Regions from separate parts of the Homo sapiens genome. Here all the other regions are linked to region 1. Evidence: promoter capture Hi-C in 16 types of primary human blood cells and fetal thymus (Javierre and others, 2016). All regions are on one chromosome and are shown on one strand. Each heading gives the region's core, a stretch centred on a gene start or on the middle of the fragment in contact. The rest is flanking DNA. Distances are from core to core; before and after follow the strand shown. Region 1 holds the start of PNPLA4 (patatin like domain 4, phospholipase and triacylglycerol lipase). Region 2 overlaps STS (steroid sulfatase). Region 3 overlaps STS (steroid sulfatase).

Region 1 (3,660 bases), core at 424-2,923:
CTATCACCCAAAATAATCTTTTCCACAACCAGAGCACAGATCCCTAATAATTACATCTTAAGAGAAAAGTCCTAATCCTTTCTGTTTCCAAGCAAACGATTATTTCTCTGCAGTGTTAACTTAGTAGAGTCAATGCTGGTGTTTGCCTTTGGGTCTTAATTTCTTGATGAGGAACACAGCCTAAGTTACTACTTAATTACCTCTATTTTTTCTGGTGCTGTTAGCAGAACAGAAGCAACCAACGATCCCGCAGACGCCCCAGCGAAGGCTTTGACATCCTTCACAAGTTTTTTGCCATGTCTGCAAAGTGCAGATGCTGCCCCCAAGTGGTAAATGCCCAGAAATCCACACGCTGCAAATGATAGGTTGATGTGCTTCATTCTAGCTGTAGCACTGGCAATACAAAAAACAAAAATGCTGTAAGTTGGAATAGTTTATCCCACATACTGTGTAGTCTTATGTTGATCATCGTTCCAAGGCTTTCTTCTAACATCATTCTCTGTTTTAAGCACAGTGGTTTCAATTAATTCTAATTAAACACAAGAATCTTTCAAGGAAACCCTTTCTTTCCCTCCTCACCTTGACCCAAGTCTTATACATTAAAACAAAACAAAACAAAAACATTCCACATTTATTCGGTACATAGATTATGAATCTACGATTTAATTACTTGGCAGGAAACAGACGTATAAATTCCAGTTGACAAGGGCATTTGGTCTTTTCTCTTGACCCTTTGAAACGTTTTGCGGGTGGGGGCGGCACTACCATTATGAAACAGAAAATTATTAGAGACCGTATCAAATTCCAAATGAACAATACATTTGTTCTTGGTAAGTGTATCAGAAGATTTCAAATACAGTTCCCTACTCCCCTTCCCAATTTCTATTGTGAGCACCCATGCTTTTATGAACGCCAATACAATTACTCAGTAACGCAATAAGCAATCACTCAACAATGCAATACATTTCTTTGCCAAGTATCTCAACACAAACTGAGGTCATGCCTGGTGAAGGCAATTTAAGGCTCTATGAAATGTCAGCCACGCCACTTTATACTTGGAACACATCTAAATACAAAATTACATGTTTTCCTATGCCTCAGTGCGCACAATTTGCCCAAGTGAATGAAATTGTGCCTCCACAAGGCTGTCCATTCTGAAGGTCTCAGGGTTTCCTTGGGGGCCCAAGGGCCCCATTCAGGGACCCCAAGATGAGGCACATTACAGGGCCTCGAATTTAGGGACCTAAGACCGCCTGTTCCTGATGCACCCGGCCAGGCCCTGTGAGGGCAGGTGGCTCGGCCGCCGCAGGCTGCGCTGGCGTCCGCGTAGGCTGAGTCCCAGTCATCGATCCGGGGTCAAGCCCCAGTTTTGATTCCACTTCTGCAAATGGGGACGGGAAGGGGGTTGGGTGTGTAGCAACCAGGCGGCCAGGCCCAGCCAGCACAGGCTCAGTGCCCTCCCGCGGCTTGGAGGCCGGCAGGGCCGGGGTGGTCCCCGCATCAGTCCCGCAGGAGCACACCCTTGCTGGGCCCCAGGGCTCCGTACCAATGCAGCCCCGGGACACTTCCGTGTTGAACGAGTCCCTTTAACCAGATGGCGGGGCCGGGCCGTCACTCAACGCCATTCCGCCACCAAGGCCGCGCTACGCTCTCCGCGAGCCGGCCCAGGAAAGTCCTGCGGCAGGGGTTGGTACCGCCTCCCGCGCAGGTATGTGACGTCATCGCGCCGACGAAGGCGCCCGCTAGGCCCCGCCTGCTCTATTTAAACTTCTGGACTCAACCTGGCCGCTAGACCGGAGCGTCCTCCAGCGCAGGCAAGGATTCCTCGTTTAGAGTCATGTTATCTTCGAGTACCTAGAGAGACATTTTAACCCACACCCTAGAGAGGCGTTGTAATCCTTACGTGTCTTTTAACGCTACTTGGCCCTTACCTGCGAGCAACTGACCTTTAATAATCCTCATTTTCTGTGCCCCGGAAGTGCCTTACCCTCTTCGCGTCTGTTTCCCGGAAGTGGTTCTTCTCCCTCTCCACCCTTTCGCCCGCCTGGGCGGTCCAGCTGCCCCTAGGGGCCAACTCCAGCGGCTATTTTGGGGCTGGACATCCCGCAGCTTTTCAAGGCGTGCCTTTGGTTTTTTTAAGAAGTGCTATCTAAAGGAAAAGCTGGACTATGACTCTGGGGAACTTTCATATCCTCAGTTGACCTTAGGCTGTGTGACCTTGAGCAGGTAGCATAACCTCTCTGAGTTTCCCGCGTGCCTTATGTGCAGATTGAGATGCTAAAATGAGAGAGCTAAATTGGAAAGCTTTTTCCACATAGGGGGCCGTGAGCAGGTGGCTGTTTTGTCCTCTGGCACCTTTGGCTCAGACTTAAGCAGCTTCAACGACCGCCAAGATGCCTGCCATGCCCACCAAGATTTAAAGGACTCTGATAATTCTTTCTCTCCCCAAACGGTGTTTTCCTTATCTAATCCTAATAACCAAGCCTGGAGGAATCCCTGACTTCGTGATTGAAGGCTCTCCAGGTCCCCTAGTTTAAGGGCAGAGATTTACTTTCTCTGAGGCTACAAAGGAGCGTCTGCGAGAATGTCTCTACCTTAGACAAAACAGGGAGGAGGGGTGGAGCTCTCCAAATTGCCTCTGGTTTGGGCTTTTTCTTTCTGTTTTGGTGTATCGTCTCTGGCCAACAACACCTGTGAGTCCTTGATGTGACGATTAGGGAAGATGTTTTTAATTCACATAACTATTCTTTAGAGAAAATTGATCCTGAAACACCTTATTGCCTTATCGTAGAATGACTGCATTACTCAGAATTCTTTACCTCTACCGGAATTTAGTGAAGGGAAGGCACAACGTACATTAGGAAAATACAGGACACACTCCAGTCCTTAAACCTTCCACAATCTTCTAGCTCTTTAAGGTCGAGTGTGATCCTCCCCAGAACTGCATCTTCCAGGAAGCTCATGAGAAAGGAAGGATCCCAGGTCCCATCTCTGATCTGAGTCGGCATCTGCGTTTTAACAGAATCCTGAAGCAGTGGTCTAACTCCTTTGGTGGTGTTATTGTTTGCATGTATACCTCCAAAATTCACATATTGAAATACTAACCCCCAAGGTGATAGTATTAGGAGGTGGGGCCTTTGGGAGGTAATTAAGTCATGAGGGTGAAGCCCTCATGAATGGGATTAGTACTCTTAGAAAAGGGACCCCAGAGAGGTCTCTTTCCACCATGTAAGGATAAAAGTACACGGAGAAGATGGCAATCTGCAAACTGGAAAAGGGCCCTCCTCAGAACCTGACCATCTTGGCACCTTGATCTCAGACTTCCATCTTCCAGAACTGTGAGAAATAAATTTCTTTTATAAACACTCAGTCAATGCTACTTTATTATAGCAGCCTGAATGGATTAAGACAGGTGGTCTGGTTTAAAGTGATGTGGTGGCATCAGAAGTTTAAGGAGAGACTGGATTTACAGAACCAGAATCTGGGATGCTGTTTACAGAGCAAGTTATTTCCTGCATTTGGACACTGTCAGCAGGTCGATTCAGGAGACAGGTGAAAACTTTATCACCGGGCAGCCTGGATGAACACCACAACTTTGATATCTTTCACTTAAAGGAAAGATAAGGGCATCCACTATTTCTACACCTGGCTGGCAGAGTG
Region 2 (3,660 bases), core at 490-2,989, 700 kb before region 1:
GTCTTAGGTTAGATTGATGTTCCAGAGTTTGTTTATGCATTCTCCTGTTGATAGTTATTTGGATTGTCTCCAGTTTTTGGTTATTGTGACTAAGGCTTTGGGTGGATAGATAGTTTTATTTCTCTTGTTTAAACATCGAGTAGTGTAATTGCTTGACAGTAAGATACATGTATATTCAATTGTATAGGAAATGGCCAAACTTTTCTCTAAAACGTTTGCATGAGTTTACACTTCAACAAGTGATATATAAGAGTTCTAGGGGCCAGGAACGGTGGCTCATGCCTGCAATCCCAGCACTTTGAGAGGCTGAGGTGGAAGGATTGCTTGAGCCCAGGAGTTTGAGACCAGCCTGGGCAACATGGTAAGACCTCATCTCTACAAAAATAAAAAAATTAGCCAGGGTGGTGGCTAATTTGCCTCTAGTCCTAACTACTTGGGAGGCTGAGGTTGGGAGGATTGCTTCAACCCAGGAGGTCAATGCTGCAGTGAGCTTTGTTCGTGCTACTGCACTCCAGCCTGGGTGACAGAGCATGACCCTGTCTCAAGAAAAAAACTTAGAGTTCCACTTGTTCTGCATCTTCACTAGCATTTGATATTTTCCGTTTTTCGTTGTTTTGTTTTGTTTTTATTTTAGCCACCGTAGGGGTTGTAAAATGCTATCTCATGGTGGTAATTTTCACTTCTCTGATTACTAATCAGGCTGAATACCTATTTATTTGCTTATTAGCCTTTTGTATATCTTCTTGTATAAAGTGCATATTCAATTGTTTTACCCATTTCATTGTTTCATTCCTTTTTTATTATTGATTTGTTCTTTACATATTCTGGATATAAATCCTTTAAAAAATAATTGTCTTACAAATAAGTTTCCCTGGTCTATGTTGCTTATCTATATTCCTTTTTCCTTAATTTTTAAAAAATTGAATGTTACTTTGAATTATTTTATCTCATGTATCCTCTCAATAGTCCCACTCTCTTCACTTGATGATAAATTAGAAGCATCTAAAAAAACCAATCATTCCCCAAAAAGTAAATTAAAACCTTTCTATAGCCATTGTTCAGTTCTAGTTACTCTATTAGCCTTGTTCAAATCGTTGTTTTTTTTTTTTTTTATAAAAGCAAGCTTTATTTTGCTATCTGATGAGACAATATGCTAGTTTGAGAGTTTGGAATAAAAAACATGGATATTTGTATTATTAAGGAAAGTTTCCAAGCACATAGTTATTAAGGAAAGCACATATTATTAGGCCAAGTTTCCAAGCAAAAGTCTTAGAATAGACATAAAGATGTGAAATAATGAACGGTGACCTTAGTATTTGCCATTGTCATTGTTCCATGCAATATGTTTAAAAAATGTTTTTATTTGATAGTGATAAGAATACTATCAGATCTAACCTCTTAAAATTTTAAGTGTGCAATACAGTATTGTCGACTGCTGATACAATGTTTGACTGCAGGTCTCTGGACTTAATCCATCTTGCTTACCTAAAGTTTTATGCCTGCTGACTCATAAATCCCCATTTTCCCTTCCCCTATCCCCTGGAAACCACCACTTTACTTTTTGGTCGTATGAATTTAGCTACTTTAGATACCTCCTGTAAGTGGAATCATACAGAATTTGTCTTTCTGTACCTGGCTTATTTCACTTAACATAAGGTTCTCAAGGTTCATCCATGCTGTTGCATATTGTAGAATATCCTTCCTTTTAAGGCTGCATAGTATTCCATTGTATGTATAGACCATGTTTTTTTTTGTTTTTAATCCATTCATTTGTTGATGGGCATTTAGGTTGCTTCCATATCTTGGCTATGGTGAATAGTACTGCAGTGAGCAGAGGAGTGCAGATATGTCTTTGAGATCCTGATTTCAATGCTGTTGGGTATATTTCCAGGAGTGGGGTTGCTAGATCACAAGGTAGTTCCATTTTTTAATTTGTCAAGGAAATTCTGTACTGTTTTTCGTAGCAACAGCACCTTTTTGCATTTCCACCAGCCATGTGCAAAGAAATTCTCCACATCCCCACTAACACTTGTCTCTTGTTTTTTGTTTTTTTAAGAGCAGCTGTTCTGACAGGTGTGGAGTGATCTCTCATTGTGTGTGGGTTTGAGTTGCATTTTCCTGATGATTGGTGATGTTGAGCATCTTTTCATGTGCTTCTTGGCATTTGTATGTGTTCTTCGGAGAAATGTCTAGTGAAGTCCTTTGGCCATTTTTTAATTGGGTTATTTGTAGTTTTGTTATTGAGTTTGGGAGTTCATTATATATTTGGGATATATGGTTATCAGTATATGGTTTGGAAATACTTTCTCCCCTTCCATAGGTTGCCTTTTCACTCCATTATTTCCTTTGCTGCACAGAAGCTTGTTAGTTTGACGTAGTCCCACTTGTCTGTTTTTGCTTCTATGGCCTGAAGCCTATTCACATTCTTAAAAGTATCTTTTGATGAATAGAAATAGTTGCTTCATTTTACCTTTTACTCTTTACATTTTAATTTGGATAATTTTCTTGACCTGTCTTCAAGGTCTCTGATTCTTTTCTTTGCCCATGACATGAACTTCTTATTTCTGATGTTACATCTATTTTGTTTTATAGCTAGCATTTCTGTTTGTTTCTTCTTTTGTATTTTCATCTTGCCACTGAAATTCCCCATCTCTTAACACATGCTGTTTGCCTTTCCTGCTAGATTCTTTTATGGATTTCCTATGGATGTCTTAAAGGATATAGATGAAATATCTAACATTTGCATACCTCCTGCTATTTCACATGTCATACGTGCAAACATAAATATGCATGCATAATAGACATTGATTATAAAAAATAGTGGAGACCGAGTCAGTCATATTTTCGCCTAGAAAACATCACACGCTTCATCTGTGTGGCCCCTTGGTAAGCTGCCATTTCAGTGTGGTTGTGATTTGTTTGGTTTTAATTAGGTTCCGCTCACCCCCTTGGCTTCAGATGCTTTGAGAGGGGATCCACACTTTCCCTTTAGCAGAGCTTAGGATCTGAGCATTGGTGAGACTCTTAAGTCATGCTCTGTTTGCAGCCTGACTGCTCACTTGTTGGGTTTTTGAAGGGTCCTCTTTGTTTTCTGTCTTGCCCTGGATTTGGTCATTCCAAATTCCCATCCTAGCTGGGGAACAGGGACAGGTGTGTGGCTGCCCATGGGGAAGATTTGGAGTGCCTTGGAGGGGTGCATCTGAGCTTCCCTGCACTGCCTCACTCTGAGTTTTTTTTGCACTGTGTGGTGTACGATTCCCCAGGGGGCTTCATGAAGACTGCAGGAGTGCATTGAAGGGTTGGCTGCAGGTGGGCTGTCTGGCTGGACCTCATCAGGATGCTGATCTGCCGTGCCAGCCTACCTACACCCAGTCGTTAAAAACTCCTTTCAGGGTCAGCTGGATTCTTCCTCTTCTCCCTACTCCTGCTACCAGGGGTGAAAGCAACTGAAGGTTTCTTCTTTGTAGGAAGGTTCATCACATCCTGGATTCTAGTTCATTTATGTTTTTTCTGCATCTTCAGCCTTTTTTTTGTCGGGGGGCGGGGGGACAGGGTTTTGCTGTGTTGCCCAGGCTGCAGTGCACTGGTGTGATCATGGTTCACTGCAGCCTTGCACCCCGGGGCTCAAGAGATCCTCCGACCTCAGCCTTCTGAGTAGCT
Region 3 (3,660 bases), core at 332-2,831, 670 kb before region 1:
TTGTGGGGAAAAAAAAGTGAAAAATTCTAGGGTCCTATGAGCGGGAAGGCTAGCTTCATGAAATAGTCAGAAAGAACCTCCTTTTCAGCATGTAGGAACAGAAGCTTGGATTGGAATCAGGGTGTTTATTGGGACTGAAGTGATCCCCCATTTGTCTTCTCAGGGAAATGGCACCTTGGGATGAGCTGTCACAGCAAGACTGACTTCTGTCACCACCCTTTACATCACGGCTTCAATTATTTCTATGGGATCTCTTTGACCAATCTGAGAGACTGCAAGCCCGGAGAGGGCAGTGTCTTCACCACGGGCTTCAAGAGGCTGGTCTTCCTCCCCCTGCAGATCGTCGGGGTCACCCTCCTTACCCTTGCTGCACTCAATTGTCTGGGGCTACTCCACGTGCCTCTAGGCGTTTTTTTCAGCCTTCTCTTCCTAGCAGCCCTAATCCTGACCCTTTTCTTGGGCTTCCTTCATTACTTCCGGCCCCTGAACTGCTTCATGATGAGGAACTACGAGATCATTCAGCAGCCCATGTCCTATGACAATCTCACCCAGAGGCTAACGGTGGAGGCGGCCCAGTTCATACAGCGGTGGGTATTGCCTTGTCCTCTGATGCTGCCTGTTAAAAAACATTCTGGGTTATTTCTCGTGGAGGTGGAAGAACCAACAGGGTTTTGTTGTTGTTGTTGTTTGTGGTTTGTTCGTTTTTTTGAGACAGAGTCTTGCTCTGTCGCCCAGGCTGGAGTGCAGTGGCGTGATCTCGGCTCACTGCAAGCTCTGCCTCCCGAGTTCACGCCATTCTCCTGCCTCAGCCTCCTGAGTAGCTGGAACTATAGGCGCCCGCCACCACACCTGGCTAATTTTTTGTATTTTTAGTAGAGACGGGGTTTCACCGTGTTAGCCAGGATGGTCTCGATCTCTTGACCTCGTGATCCGCCCGCCTCGGCCTCCCAAAGTGCTGGGATTACAGGCGTGAGCCACCACGCCCAGCCAGAACTGGTAGGGTTATTATGCTAGCCACATTTTCCCTTCCATGCCTAACACATTTCTTCAGCCAGAGCTCGCCATAGCACATGTTTAATGGCCTTAGAAAGGTATTGCAATGCAGTGTGCTCTCCTTAGAGTCTCTTTGCCAACATTCCCCACATCCTGGGCTGGAAAGGCCCATGGCAAATTAATGTCTGCTGATGACAAAGGAGGTGTCAGATATCCCACTGGTTTTTTGTTTGTTTGTTTGTTTGAGAGGGAATCTCTCTGTGTCGCCCAGGCTGGAGTGCAAGTGGTGCGATCTTGGCTCACTGCAACCTCCACCTCCCAGGTTCAAGTGATTCTCCTGCCTTAGCCTTCTGAGTAGCTGGGATTACAGGTGCCTGCCACCATGCCTGGCTAATTTTTTTTCTATTTTTAGTAGAGACAGGGTTTCACAAACTTGGTCAGTCTGCATTTTGAACTCCTGACCTCAGGTGATCCACCCACCTCGGCCTCCCAAAGTGCTGGGATTACAGGTGTGAGCCACAGTACCCAGCCCCACTGGTCTTTAATTTTCAAATGTGGCCATCAAGAGAGGCAAGATAATGGCTTATGTTTAGTTTATAGGTTGTCCTTGTGATATAAACAATGTGGAAAGATCCAAAATATTTTGGATTAATCTCTGAGCAAACAAAACAAAACAAAAACCTCTGTGAGTAAACTGGGTGAAGTGAATGATGTCTCTTGGGTCTGTCAGGTCCCATTGAGTTTATAGTTTTGGGGATTGCAATCTGTAAATGGAATAACCATCAACAGTGGAGCAGACAGCATTCCTGAATTACATAGGTAGGTATAATATATATCTATATTATAATACATAATATAGAGAGCATAAGTAGATATAATTAAGTAGATATTATATAGAGGCTATGTCAAAAACACTTGCTATTCAAAACAAGCAAATAAAAGTATTTTGTTCCACTTGTAACTGTGGAGAACAGGACTCTAAAGAGAAATGGAAAGTTCATCTGAAAATCAGACGTTTGGTCTTTATGGTGACTTAAACTCTATGAGAGATGTAAAAGAGAGTTGGGAGGGTGATTTAAAAATTATAAAGGAGACAGAGGAAATATAGGTAATATTGGTTTGTCATCCAATTAATTGCATGACACAAAATTGTAAAATCAATCTCTGGATTGAACAATGAATGACAATGAAAAGGAAGTTATTGTGATGAAGGGAAACTATATTAGGGATTTAATTTAAAAACAAGCAAATATGCTCAGCCTAAGAAGAGAATACATAGTTAAGGTATGTGGAAGCTACATAAGTTAGGGCTGGTGAGAAAGGTAAAAGGTAACGTACTCTATGAAAATTATGTTGTCATTTCCTCACATGGAAGATGTTGTGTTCCTCTGTCCAGATCTTGTGTGCCTGGAGTTGATGCTTTACTGGAGGTTGGGAATGGGCAGTGGTTCTCCTCACTCTCTTCTTCCAGTTATGAAACAGCATAGGAGCAACCCATTCACCTGGAGGTACAACAGTGTCCTGCTACCCACAACATCACGGATTATGCAATAGATAAATCATAGGGTGTATTTTAGTATATCTCTCTGGTATCACAAAAGTGTTTCATCAACTCTGACAGAAGCCCACATATGGTTTGGGTGTCTGAACAGACTACGAAGTGACTTACACAAAAGTTGCAATTGATAGTATCACTTCCTCCTTCTAAAAATGAGACACAAATAGAATGATTAGTTCTTATAGTTCACACCGCCTCTCAGTTTTGACAGATTTTGTTAAAATCTAAATTGTCATTGAACTGTGAAATATATAAACTGGTCATTGGTCATTTTAAGTATTCTCAGTTTCAGCCTCTGGGACTTGGCTCCAGAGAGTATTCTATGTACTAGCTGCCCAACGGCTGAGGGAGCACCACACAATTTAAGTTTTTATTTTGGTTAACATCCAACTTCTGCTGCCAGTTTCTGTTTTTGTCAGTGAAGACTGACAAAATCTCAGTGGATTAACACTTGAAGATTTGTTTCTTGCCCATGCAAAATCTATTGCTGGTTGGGTGATGCTCTAGGGAAGCTTTGCTCCATGAGGAGACTCAGGGATCCAGGTTGCTAATATCTTGTGGTTCTGTCATCTCAATAGATGGCCTTCCCAGTAGCGTCCACAGGAGAAAAGAGTTGAAGGGTCCCTTGGGGGCTTTTTGTTACTTCACTGACCCAGGGGTCAGCATGTAGACCAGGCCCCATGTCTCCACCCTGACTTGACATGGGGCTAAGAGGCAGTCTCCCCATGTCTTCAGGAAGAAGAAAATGAAACGGCCTTGCTGAACATATAGCAGTGATTTTCCTACTGCAAACAGTGATTTTCAAATTTGTTTTAAAGCTGAGGAATATTTCAGATGAAATTTTATGAGAAGCTAAGTATGTCAGAGGGATAAAAGTTGCAGTGCTTGGGTGAACCTGGAACAGAGGACTGCATTTGGAAATTGCTGACATTTAATAAAGCCCCATGGAAATCTCATGAACAGCTGGAGAGAAAGGGCAGACTCTGCAACAAAAGAATAAAAGAACATGTGAGCAAACATCTAGTTAGTGCAGACTCTAGGCAAATTAATATTTAACAGACATTTGTAAGTAAAAAAGGTAGGCACACCAGGAGAAAAATCAACACCAG

Evidence for each region. Contacts are between HindIII fragments. The CHiCAGO score rates a contact against its expected background, and 5 or more counts as called.
Region 2: a fragment that was not itself captured here is called in contact with the fragment with the promoter of PNPLA4 in region 1 in 1 of 17 cell types (total B cells); the score reaches 5.2 in total B cells.
Region 3: a contact is called between a fragment that was not itself captured here and the fragment with the promoter of PNPLA4 in region 1, in 1 of 17 cell types (total B cells). The highest score is 5.9, in total B cells.

The regions. Positions count from the first base shown.
Region 1 is chrX:7,925,740-7,929,399 of GRCh38, forward strand. It overlaps PNPLA4 (patatin like domain 4, phospholipase and triacylglycerol lipase), which reads right to left and starts at 1,674. Exons shown (of 7, transcript NM_004650.3): 1 at 1,547-1,674; 2 at 201-393. The coding sequence starts at 380. It overlaps LOC107985675 (a long non-coding RNA gene), which reads left to right and starts at 1,761. Exons shown (of 5, transcript XR_001755784.2): 1 at 1,761-3,660. RefSeq lists a silencer at 109-403 and enhancers at 380-429, 1,092-1,321, 1,552-1,791, 1,812-1,861, 2,202-2,281. The HindIII fragment of the contact is 3,086 bases long and covers 1-2,302 here.
Region 2 is chrX:7,226,352-7,230,011 of GRCh38, forward strand. The region is part of intron 2 of STS (steroid sulfatase); the gene reads left to right. Among named protein-coding and RNA genes, the nearest start is that of PUDP, 80 kb to the left of the region's middle. The HindIII fragment of the contact is 1,237 bases long and covers 1,122-2,358 here.
Region 3 is chrX:7,259,186-7,262,845 of GRCh38, forward strand. It overlaps STS (steroid sulfatase), which reads left to right. Exons shown (of 11, transcript NM_001320752.2): 6 at 164-587. Among named protein-coding and RNA genes, the nearest start is that of PUDP, 110 kb to the left of the region's middle. The HindIII fragment of the contact is 2,959 bases long and covers 103-3,061 here.